Regions from separate parts of the Homo sapiens genome. Here region 1 is linked to region 2. Evidence: promoter capture Hi-C in 16 types of primary human blood cells and fetal thymus (Javierre and others, 2016). All regions are on one chromosome and are shown on one strand. Each heading gives the region's core, a stretch centred on a gene start or on the middle of the fragment in contact. The rest is flanking DNA. Distances are from core to core; before and after follow the strand shown.

Region 1 (5,550 bases), core at 233-2,732, 250 kb after region 2:
GACAAAATCTGAGAGGTGAACGAGTTAATTCTTATTCCATGAATGCGGGGCAGGATGACAGGATGGAGTCTGGGACTTGCCTACAGTCCACAGATGGGGGGTTGGGGATTGAAACAAGACCACAGCTCAACTCACTCCTCATCCAGCTTTTTCCACTACCCCTCATCACCTCCTCGGGCTCTAGAAGATATATACAAACTCATTTTTCTGGGACTAAAAGGAATTTTTATTCATGACATGTTTAAATCCATGTAAATGTCAACATTTCTGGCCAATGGAGTGTTGTGAAAGGAATAAACAATACAGGAAATAGAAAAGGTTATTTATCCACATCCGCTCTTTTTAAAGGCTATAATGCTGTTTCCAAATCATGCCAGTGCTTGTCAGAGATTATAAGGAAAAGTGCCTACAGAGTTGGGAAGAGGAAATCACAATGCAGATGATTATGGATCAGGGTATATGTGATGGTTAATTTTGTTTGTCAACTTGATTGGGTCAAAGATACCCAAATAGGTGGTTAACCATTATTTCTGGGTGCATCTGTGAGGGAGTTTCTGGAAGAGATTCACATTTAAGTTGGTGGACCGAGTAAAGCAGATGGTCCTTTCTAATTTGGGGCAAGGGATGGGTGGCGGGCATCATCCAATGCAGTGAGTATGGAACAAAAAGACAGAAGAAGATTAAATTTGGTATCTGCTTGACTGTATGAGCTGGGATATCGATCTTCTCTGGCCCCCAGCCCTCTTGGATCTCCGTCCTTCAGATGCAGGCTGGAAGCTACACCATTAACTGTCAGGCTTTCAGGCTTTTGAACTACACCACCGGCTCTCCTAGGTCTCCAGCTTGCAGACAGCAGATCACGGAATTTTTCAGCCTCCATAATTTTGTTCCAATAACTTCCAGTGAATCTCTTTGTATATTGGTTCTATTGAATCTGTTTTCTCTGCAGAACCCTGATTCATTCAGCTTACTAAACCAGTCAGCAGGCTATGGATGGCACTTTGAAGGCCATAATTTTGAGACCCTGCAAAGCAGGTGAAGGAGAGAAATTTATAACTAAGGCTCTTCACCCATTCTCCAGAAGAATGCCTTTATTTCTTTGTCTCCAAAATCTAATGTAGAAGCCAGCAAGCTGCTGCCAACAGCAGGGAGCCTGACATGAGATGGAACACTGCTGTCCCTGTAAAGGAGTCAACACCATGAACCGTTTTGAATACATGAGAACAGCCAACAGCCACCAAGGCCATACAATATCTGGCGACCCAGTCAGGATGAGAATATTGGCTTTAGCCATGATAAAGATAGTGACAGTTTATATGAGGGTTAGCATCAAAACAGGACAGTTTATAAGAACCCCAAAGCTGAAAATCTTTTAAAAACCCTAAGCCAAAATCTCGATGATGTGCTGGTACAAGGGGCGTTATTATTTAACTAAATATTAATAGATTCCTGTCCTTTTGGCTTACTTCTCTGCTCCCTCTCTCCTTCAGCTATTTTCTATTATTTTTTCCATACACACAAATGCAGAGCTTTTTGGTACTTGCTTTGTAATCCAGTGCATAGAGATGTTGATTCCCATCTCTAGGGGCAAACAATTGTACTATGTTTTGTTTTTTTCCCTATTGTATGCCAAAAGAAAACAAACCTATTCTGTTCTCTGTTTATAGAACTGTCTTTGTCTAGCTGTCTGTCTACTTATCTATCTATATCTATCTATCTGTCTATCTATACCTACCTATTTTATACATATTTTTTATTTCAATAGCCTTCGGGGGTACACATGGGTTTTGGTAACATGGATGAATTGTATAGTGATGAAGCCTCAGACTTTAGTGCACTCCTCAACTGAATACTGTACATTGTACCCAATATGTAGTGTTTTTTGTTTGTTTGTTTGTTTTTAGACCGAGTCTCGTTCTGTCACCAGGCTGGAGTGTAGTGGTGCCATCTCGGCTTACTGCAACCTCCGACTCTCTGGTTCAAGCAATTCTCCTGCCTCAGCCTCCTGAGTAGCTGCGATTACAGGCATGCGCCACCATGCCCAGCTAATTTTTGTATTTGTAGTAGAGACGTAGTTTCACCATGTTGGCCAAGATGGTTTTGATCTCCTGACCTCGCGATCCACCTGCCTTGGCCTCCCAAAGTGCTGAGATTATAGGCATGAGCCACCGCGCCCAGCCCAATAAGTAGTTTTTTTATTCCTAGCCCTCTTTCCACCCTCCCTCTTTCTGAGTGACCAGTGTCCATTCAGCACTGTCTTTCTAATCACAATTCTTCCTGTGAACTCTGACTTCTGTTGGCTATCTGTTTTAGCCCTTTCAACAGAAATGAAAATACAGAAAGATGTTCAATTGGTGGGAGAATTGCCTGAGCCTGGGAGGTGGAGGTTGCAATGAGCCGAGATCACGCCACTGCACTCCAGCCTGGGTGACACAGTGAGATCCTGTCTTAAAAAAAAAAAAAAAAAAAAAAGATGTTCAATCTTTTTAGGGTGACAGAGCAAATCTGTAACTCTACTTACAGTCAAATACCAGGTACTGATGTCCCAAAATTTCTTCTTGGAAAGAAGGAACCATTTTATTTTCATTGGCACCAATCATAGGATGTTTTCTTCACTATTTAATTTTGAATAACACAGTTCTTTTCAGGGAAGACACATTATCCTGAAACACCCTGAATTAATGCTAGATTTGAATGTCTATAAGTAGGATTTGTGAACTTTGATAAATATTTAATCATTCTTTCATTTGGGTGAATGGCCTTACATTTTCAAGAATGGGTGTTAATGTGAGTGAGCCTTTTAAATATCACTTTTTTGAAGTATTACAGTAAGTGATTGCATAGTAAACATTCAGAATATGCAACTTCAGGAAGAATGAGAGAAAACTGTCCTAATACTATGCTGTGGCTTGGGATAAAATTGAGATATGATGGAGGAAAAATATGTCAATTACCAGATATCTTTATGTGAAATATAAGATAATATATAAAATGGGACTGGGCATGGGGGCTCATGCCTGTAATGCCAGCACTTTGGGAGGCCAAGGTGGGTAGTTCTCTCGAGCCCAGGAGTTTGAGACCAGTCTGGGCAACATGGTGAGACTCCATCTCAACAAAAAAATATACAAATTAGCTGAGCATGGTGGTGTGCACCTATAGTCCCAGCTATGTGGGAGGCTAAGGTGGGAGGATCACTTGAGCCTGGGGTGGCTGAGGCTACTGTGAGCCATGATCATGTCTCACATGATCATGGCAGTGGCACTTTAGCCTGGGTGACAGAGTGAGACCCTGTCTCAAAAAAATAAAAAGTTAATATGCTTATATAAAACGATATTAACACATCAATTTTATAAGTATATATAAAATGATTTATAATATGTGTATAACTAAATTAATACATTAACTATTTTTAAGCAGATGATTCATGATTTTTAGCTATGTTCCTAGAATTTTTGGTGACGGGAAGGGGAGCATTTACTTGGGCAATGGGAGTGTCTCATATTTGACATTGCCTTATATTAGGGCATATACTGTAGATGCATAAACAATGGTTGAATCCTAACCAAGCTTGGGGTGGGGGGAGGAAGAACAATGAAGACATTCACAACAAATTATTTTCTTTTCTCTGTGTTATCAAGAAAATGTGTTTACCAGTCTTTATCTTGATTCCAGATCCACAGCAAATGATGACTCTTCTCTATGTATGACGATGATGGTTTGTGAACCAAACTCTGGATCATATAAAAATGAGTGTTTGAAATACTACTTCAAAAGTAGCCACTTCTGAAGATTCTATACATTTATTCAGAGAATGACAGTCATGGGCCAAACTGCTTGGGAACGCCTCTTGGAGGACTGCCTTCAAATCATCACTTCACAGGCTGGACGACAGGGCCAGGCTCCACACTTTATAGACAGTCTTTTTGTTTTCTTTTTTTTTTTTAACCCCAAATGGTTATACTCATGCCATTGACCAGCTTGGCCTCTGGATGACTTTTGGCTCTTTCCAGAAATCATTAAATTCACTGTCTTCCACTGACTCCCATCCCCCATCCCACCCCAAAGGAAGAAGACTTGGCACAGAGTAGGACTTTCAGAAAAATGCTCTGCAGGCTCTGAAGACAATTCTGCGAGAGGAGTTCCAAATGTTTAGAGGAAAAACAAGACAACTAGAGTCAGTATATGACCTCCCAACGAGAATGTGCTGAAAAGAGACAAAATTCCTTAGGGTTTCTAAGTTCTAGAAGATTACTTTTTAAATATCATTTTATGTTCCTATGCCACATTTAAAATGTACAAACCTTGCATGCCATACCAGGTAGCCAGATTGAGCAAATATCTTCACGTGTTTTCTACTTCAATCAAAATAGAAAACCTTAAGCTTTTTTGCTTTTGAGACTAAGCCTATAAACAAAAGTACAATTTATAAACCTGCTATGCACATTGGCAGGAACCTATGACATAAAATGAATATTTAAACTTGGGTTATTTGGCAAAATGGTGGTACCATCCTCCCAGTAACAATGCTAAACATCAGAACACAAGCAAGCTCATGATGCAATCAGCACAGGGGTGCGGGATCATTATCTTCAGTTGTTCACTTGCAGAGGGACTGAAAGCTCAAGTTATATAGACTTGCCTCATCTGTAGGCCTGGTGAATACATCTTCCATTTTACATTTTGGCTCCAGGATATGACATTCTCTCCATATATCATCTGCTGGTTTTCTTCTTTGTTGGACAGTTATTTTGTTAGGAATTCATAACTCTTTATGTTTTGACACAAGCTCCCAGCACATAAGCTATTCCCTGATTGGAAATGAAGCTGTTTAGAAACTTGTTTTAACTCTTTCAATTCATTAGGGTGTTATTTAGTAAGTTCACTGAAGCAGTAATTTCCCAAGTAGAATTAGCTGGCCCTTTATATGTTGTCAAATAGCCAACTTTCGAGCTGGAACAATCCAACAAATGCAGTTATAACGCAACCAAAACCAGTTAAGAAATAAGTGACTTTGGGGATTTAAAAAGAGAAAGTGAGTCCAGGGAAATTTGCTAATTCTTTTGGAAAGAACTTAAAAATTAGGGAATGAAGGAAAACAAATTGGACTTCACATATTTGGATTTCAGAACAACATTTGATTTAGAATAGTAATTCTATGGTTAGATTAATTCAAGCCATATTAATTATTTGAAGATTGTAATGCATGATTCTAATATGATGCTCATTCGATTCACATTTCCCATTACCTCTGAAGAGTACATATCTCCAAACGGAGTTATTTGGAATAAGTCTTTTACTGTGCACAAGTTTAGAAAAAATTTCCAGGAATTTATCCCAAAGGAAAACCCAATAGAAACAAAAACAATTTGTATTTGCCCACACTAGTGCATTTCTCTGCCTTCTGCCAGACATTTTTTAGATATTCTCAAATCAAGTTCTCATTTCTGCCTCTGGCATCTCACTGCAACAGTACCAGACATTGATATAGTCTCGATAACTTTCAAAAGCTTTCTTTGTACATCGTCGGGTCGGATCTGTGCAATTATTTTG
Region 2 (5,661 bases), core at 1,805-4,304:
CCACAGGCCACCTTTCTGTCCCTCATCAGGGTGTAACTTTGGAAGTAGAAATAGGGATTCTGAAACCCATGTGCCAATGTATTATGGGGCCCTCCCTCCCTGCTCCCTACCCCAGACAGAGAAGTTGACAATCCAGGTGAGTTAATCAGCTTAGACGTGGCTGGGTAACTCCTTCTGTGCCTACCTTGCTTGTCTCAACTTTGAACCAACAAGGCAGCAGCACTTAAGCTAATTGGGGTCATGCAATTTAGAATGCTTTTAACATAAACACCCTGTTGACATTGGAGGGATTGAAATATGCTCTGTTGGGAGCAAGAGAGAGATGAATTAAAGCAGAAACAGCTTAGTCATCCCAGTTAGTGGTCATAAAATTGCCCAGAAATGTATTATTTGATTTATTGTGTCCATCATGTTTTTTAAAGTCTCTATGGCTCTTCATACAGGACAAACCAAAATCAAATTAAAATGAAGAGCAGGTTCCACTTATCCTGAAAGCCCATTTGCAGTTGTGCAGAGCTGCAAATCAACAGGAGTAAGAACTGAAATGTATTTATTCAGAACCATGAGCTGCTGGTGGGGTCAGCGCCACTGTGTTGGACTGGCACACATGGAGGATTGGCTTTGTAATTCCCATTCTGTATTTAGGGGAATGCAGCAGTGGAATCTGTGATGAGGCCTCGTGCATCCATGGTGGCACCTGCACAGCAATCAAAGCCGACTCCTACATTTGCCTCTGTCCCCTTGGGTTTAAAGGTCGACACTGTGAAGATGGTGAGAAAGAAGCAAGTTGAAGGCGGTTTCTATCTGCATGTTAATTTGTGTAGATGTACTTTATCATCAATATAGTTTCTTTGTTAATTTGTTTGTTTGTTTTTGAGACAAAGGCTCCCTCTCTTACCCAGGCCGGAGTGCAGTGGCGCATCTCGGCTCACTGCAACCTCTGCCTCCCGGGTTCAAGTGATTCTCTTCTGCCTCAGCTCCCGAGTAGCTGGAACTACAGGCGCCCAGCTAATTTTTGTATTTTTAGTAGAGATGGGATTTCACCATGTTGCCCAGGCTGCTCTCAAACTCTTGACCTCAAGTGATCCACCCGCCTCGGCCTCCCAAAGTGCTGGGATTACAGGCGTGAGCCACCACGCCAGGCCTCATCAATGTACTTTTAACAAATCTAACAAAGCCCCATACATTTTTATGGGATCAACATTGCTTTGTTGGGAGAGATGGGGGAAACTTTTTAAACAAGGTTGGAGTGTCTCTGAGTGCCAAAATTTGTTTGGTAATGAGAACTCACTCATCTGATGTTGAGCCTTTCAGCACTTCTTACTGCAGGGCACCTCCGTCCCTCAGCCAAACATATGTTCATTTCAAGATGCTAAGAATCAGTGGGCTCCTCTTGGCCCTTGAATAACTTTTAAAAAGCCTGTATTGGTATGGTTTGTATCAGACTGAATTCAAAGCCTTTAAAGCTCAGGCTCATGCTCTTTAGAATTTCTGTCAATTTCTGATAAAAGATTGGGAAGATGAGGCCAGGCGCAGTGGCTCACGCCTATAATCCCAGCACTCTGGGAGGCCGAGGTGGGCGGATCACGAGGCCAACGTGGTGAAACTCCGTTTCTACTAAAAATACAAAAATTAGCTGGGTGTGGTGGTGCACAGCTGTAATCCCAGCTACTCGGGAGGCTGAGGCAGGAGAATTGCTTGAACCCAGGAGGCGGAGGTTGCAGTGAGCCGAGATAGCACCACTGTACTCCAATCTGGGTGACAGAGCGAGACTCCATCTTGGGAAAAAAAAAAAAGATAGGGAAGGTAGACACAGAAACGTTAACAATGTGATGGGACAAAAGTAACCTTTTTTTGTACTGTTCTACTAAATTATGCCACATTTTAATACTGTATATACAGAGAGTATGTAAATATATATACATGCACACACATGTGTATATAAACATGGAAACACATGCACACAAATACACATATGTGCGCTCACACAGGCAAATAATAACAGAAAATTTCAAAGATTTTGGAAAATCATGGAGGGTTCCAAAAGTGATTTTGGAAAATCATTTTTGCAGAATTCTGAAATTAAAATAAAAAGAAAATAAAACTGAGGCTAAGATCACAAAACTAGTCAAATTCTTCCCTAATTCAGATTTGGACCTAAGATACCATATTGGGGAAAACTTTTGTGATCTCAAATCTCATGTCACCTAAAAGAGGGCATGTGAGTCAGGGTAAGCCAATGCTGTTACATACCAGCTCATATTTCAGTAGCCTTACATAATCAAGGCTGGTTCTTGCTCATATTACAAAATCACTGCAGGTCAAAGATGGTGGTGAGAGAGGGGGTTCTGCTCCACACAGTTATACAGGGACACAGTTTCCTTCCATCTAATGGCTCTTCTAGGGCCTTAGAGTCCTCCACTGATACTTGCATCCTGCCAGCACGTGAGAGGAGAGAAAGAGCATGGAGGATGGAGGGAAGTTTTAGGGGCCAGACTTAGGGTGCTCTATGATTCTTCCACCCATGTTCTACTGGCCAGAATTCAGTCACACCACCAACCTAACTGCAGGGCTGCTGGGAATTGTAGTTTAGGTCTGTACCCAGGAGGGAAAGAACACAGCTATGGGTGCACATCTGGCCAGTTTCTGCCACAGAGGGATTTCTAACACCATGCTTGTTTTTTCAGCTTTCACCTTGACCATTCCTCAGTTCAGAGAGTCTCTGAGATCTTACGCTGCAACTCCCTGGCCACTGGAGCCCCAGCATTACCTTTCCTTCATGGAATTTGAGATCACATTTCGGCCAGACTCAGGAGATGGTGTCCTCCTGTACAGCTATGACACAGGCAGCAAAGACTTCCTGTCCATCAACTTGGCAGGGGGCCACGTGGAGTTCCGCTTTGACTGTGGCTCTGGGACCGGTGTCCTCAGGTGAGGGCTGAAAACTTCTGGGACTCTTTCCCTTAAAAAGGCAAATAGTAACTGCTTCAGAAAAAAACCAAATCGCCATTCAACAGCTCACACTCATCCTGTCTTCTCTACATGCTTATCTTCTGAAACTTGTCCTGACTTGTCCTGCTTCAGGCAGATGACAGGCTTCCTATAGAGAGTGCTCTCCTGCCCACAAGGCTTCCTTTTCTCAAATAACTACCCAACAGGTAGCAATTGTATGCTTCAAACTATGGAAAATGGACTTGCTTCAGGTGGAGGTAAACTGCCTCCATTTCCACCTAAAGTTATGTCATGTCATCCGCAGAAACTTGATGAACTGTAACTAGTCAGCATCTCATACAGAGCATCACATGATGGGCACCCAGCAAATACATGTCAACTAGTAAAAAAGTATTAACAAATATTTTTGAACAAAAATATCCTTGATGACCTCACTCTAAATATTCACTTTCCTCTTGAACTATTTCTTTAATGGAAATTGACAGTGAATCATCAGCAATGCAGAGACCCGTTCCCTAAGCAATATGCTCAAGAAAGATGTGTGATGAGTGGTTTCAATAGCATAGCAGGAAATGGGTGCTTCTGCAGTACTTGCTGGTATTTGCAGAATTGGTGTAAGTAGTCAAAACTTTCCTACTGTTATCTAGTTTGTACTATTAAATTACTTAGCAGGTCGATTGTTCCTTGGAGCCTGTAGTTGGTAGATGCAGACGCTTTTATTTGTTTATGTCTCCCATCTTTTTATTGTGTTGATGGTAGTTTTAACCTTCAAGCCAGAGGGGCCACTAATCGCATGCAGACATGCTTCTTGTTCCTACATTTGTCTAATTCGTCTTTTTTGAAACTCACTAGGATGTTTTGCTCCATGGTGCCCTGTAACAGGGTATCAGTTAGTCTGTTGTTTCAAAGAATATTGCAAACTGTTTTCAATCTTTATCCATATTGCTAGACTGTCATGTTTAAAAAGAGTATGTAGGTGAGATGCTACAACCATGCATTGCCCTTAACTACTGATCATTTTTCCTGGCTGATAGAAAATGCTCACTGCATTAGGTTTTAACAGTTCTTAAAAAGGATGGTTTGTTTTTGTCCTTGTGGCTGAATTCCTGCACATCAGTGACACCTTCCCCTCTAGGGGAACGGACAAATATTGTTGTACCTCTGGTTATGCAAAAACATCCTATATTTCAAGACAACTTTGGTGGGGATTTAATTGATTCAATTTACATATGATTATGCAAAATAGCCTAAGCAATTCACTTAGAACTGTATGTCAAGTTGACAAAGGAAGACACCTTGAATATCACCTTGCACTTTTAAATGGTTTTCTTCCTGGATAGGGAATGACCAGAAAGATCCAGGAGAGGTTCTGGGCTCATCAGCCCTCCTCCTGGACAGACTACCCCCTCCACACTGCCTCTCTGCAGTGGCAGCTCCAGCTGTGGGGTCACAAGCACATGGAACCCTTAGAAGTCCAGCATTTCTCTCTTTCATAACTCTGTGCTTATTTTTGACACGAGGTGCTTTTAATTTTTTTTTGTAAATTTACTAAGTTATTGTTTCACTGCCTGTCAGCAAAGGCAACTGGAAAAAGAATTTTTAAGAATTAGGTGATGAAAATGAGGCAAGAGTTTCTGAGGGACAAACCACCATCTGCCCCCTTATCCTATCCCCTCCTGAGCGTAAGCTAACAACAGTGATTACTCTTGGTGTTTCAGATGCCCCATTGGAAGCTGTTTATTTTGAAAACCATTTCAAAGACTTCTTGCTCAATTAAGACAATGCAGTGAAAACTCAAACTACAGGAAGTTGTGGAATTGGCCAGATCATTTTAACTTTAGGAATAGGATAAGATGGGCAAATTCATTATGAACTTGATTAAAAAATCACGACAATTGGAATGAGTTCTTGATGGCTGTGATCGATAAAAGGATGTTGAGGAAGGTGGCATATTGACAGCAAATGACCTCTGCAGTACAAAAACATGAAATGGCTCTGTTATGGAGATAGACCACTTAAAAAGGGCTGCTTATTTCTTTATTGCATATTGATTTAGCCAAGGTGATTAAATTCTAATTGCTAAGAACAGATCACAAAATCATTTGCCAAAGCAAAAATCAAGTGAGGGGGTGGTGACCTTTCAATAATTGTGCCCATTGGTATTCCTCATGGTTTTCTAAAGATGATCCAGGACCACAAGATAATTGGGAAGTTCAGCGAGGGCCAGGAACTAGACATTGCTAGAAATACAAATGCAATAATGAGTCTCTTTCTGCACACCTCACTATAAAACGTAATGAGTAAAACTTGCATAAATATCATTAAACTTTAAGCACTTCCACTTTGAATGAATAATTGAACTTTTAATGTAATTTTAATCATTTTTACAATATCAGAAAATATGGAATCTATTTCCCTCCCAATATTTTATTATGAAAAATTTCAAACATATAGAAAAATTGGAAGAATTGTACAGTAAGCATCCTGATACCGAGCACCTATAGTCTGTAATTAACGTTTTGCTATATTTGCCTCATCACATATCTAGCCATTATTATATCTGTCCATCCATCCTTCTTAATTTTTAAAAAAAAATTTTAATGACCAAAACAAAGTATCTAAAACTGCAGCTTCTCAAAGAACCACTTGTTCTTGCCCATCTGTTCCTCTCTTCAAACTTGACCTTGGCCTCCCATTGGGCCTTGTGGT

The links. The method cuts DNA at HindIII sites, captures the fragments that hold promoters and counts their contacts. A CHiCAGO score of 5 or more calls a contact.
Region 1: a fragment that was not itself captured here is called in contact with the fragment with the promoter of EGFLAM-AS1 in region 2 in 1 of 17 cell types (endothelial precursors); the score reaches 5.0 in endothelial precursors.

Annotation. Positions count from the first base shown.
Region 1 is chr5:38,676,652-38,682,201 of GRCh38, forward strand. No RefSeq gene overlaps it. Among named protein-coding and RNA genes, the nearest start is that of LINC01265, 41 kb to the right of the region's middle. The HindIII fragment of the contact is 4,165 bases long and covers 1-3,565 here.
Region 2 is chr5:38,424,322-38,429,982 of GRCh38, forward strand. EGFLAM-AS1 (EGFLAM antisense RNA 1) reads right to left here and starts at 3,055. Exons shown (of 2, transcript NR_046737.1): 1 at 2,771-3,055; 2 at 534-760. EGFLAM (EGF like, fibronectin type III and laminin G domains) reads left to right here. Exons shown (of 22, transcript NM_152403.4): 13 at 646-771; 14 at 2,688-2,931. It also overlaps the pseudogene LOC124901186. RefSeq lists an enhancer at 2,277-3,476. The HindIII fragment of the contact is 14,108 bases long and covers 1-5,661 here.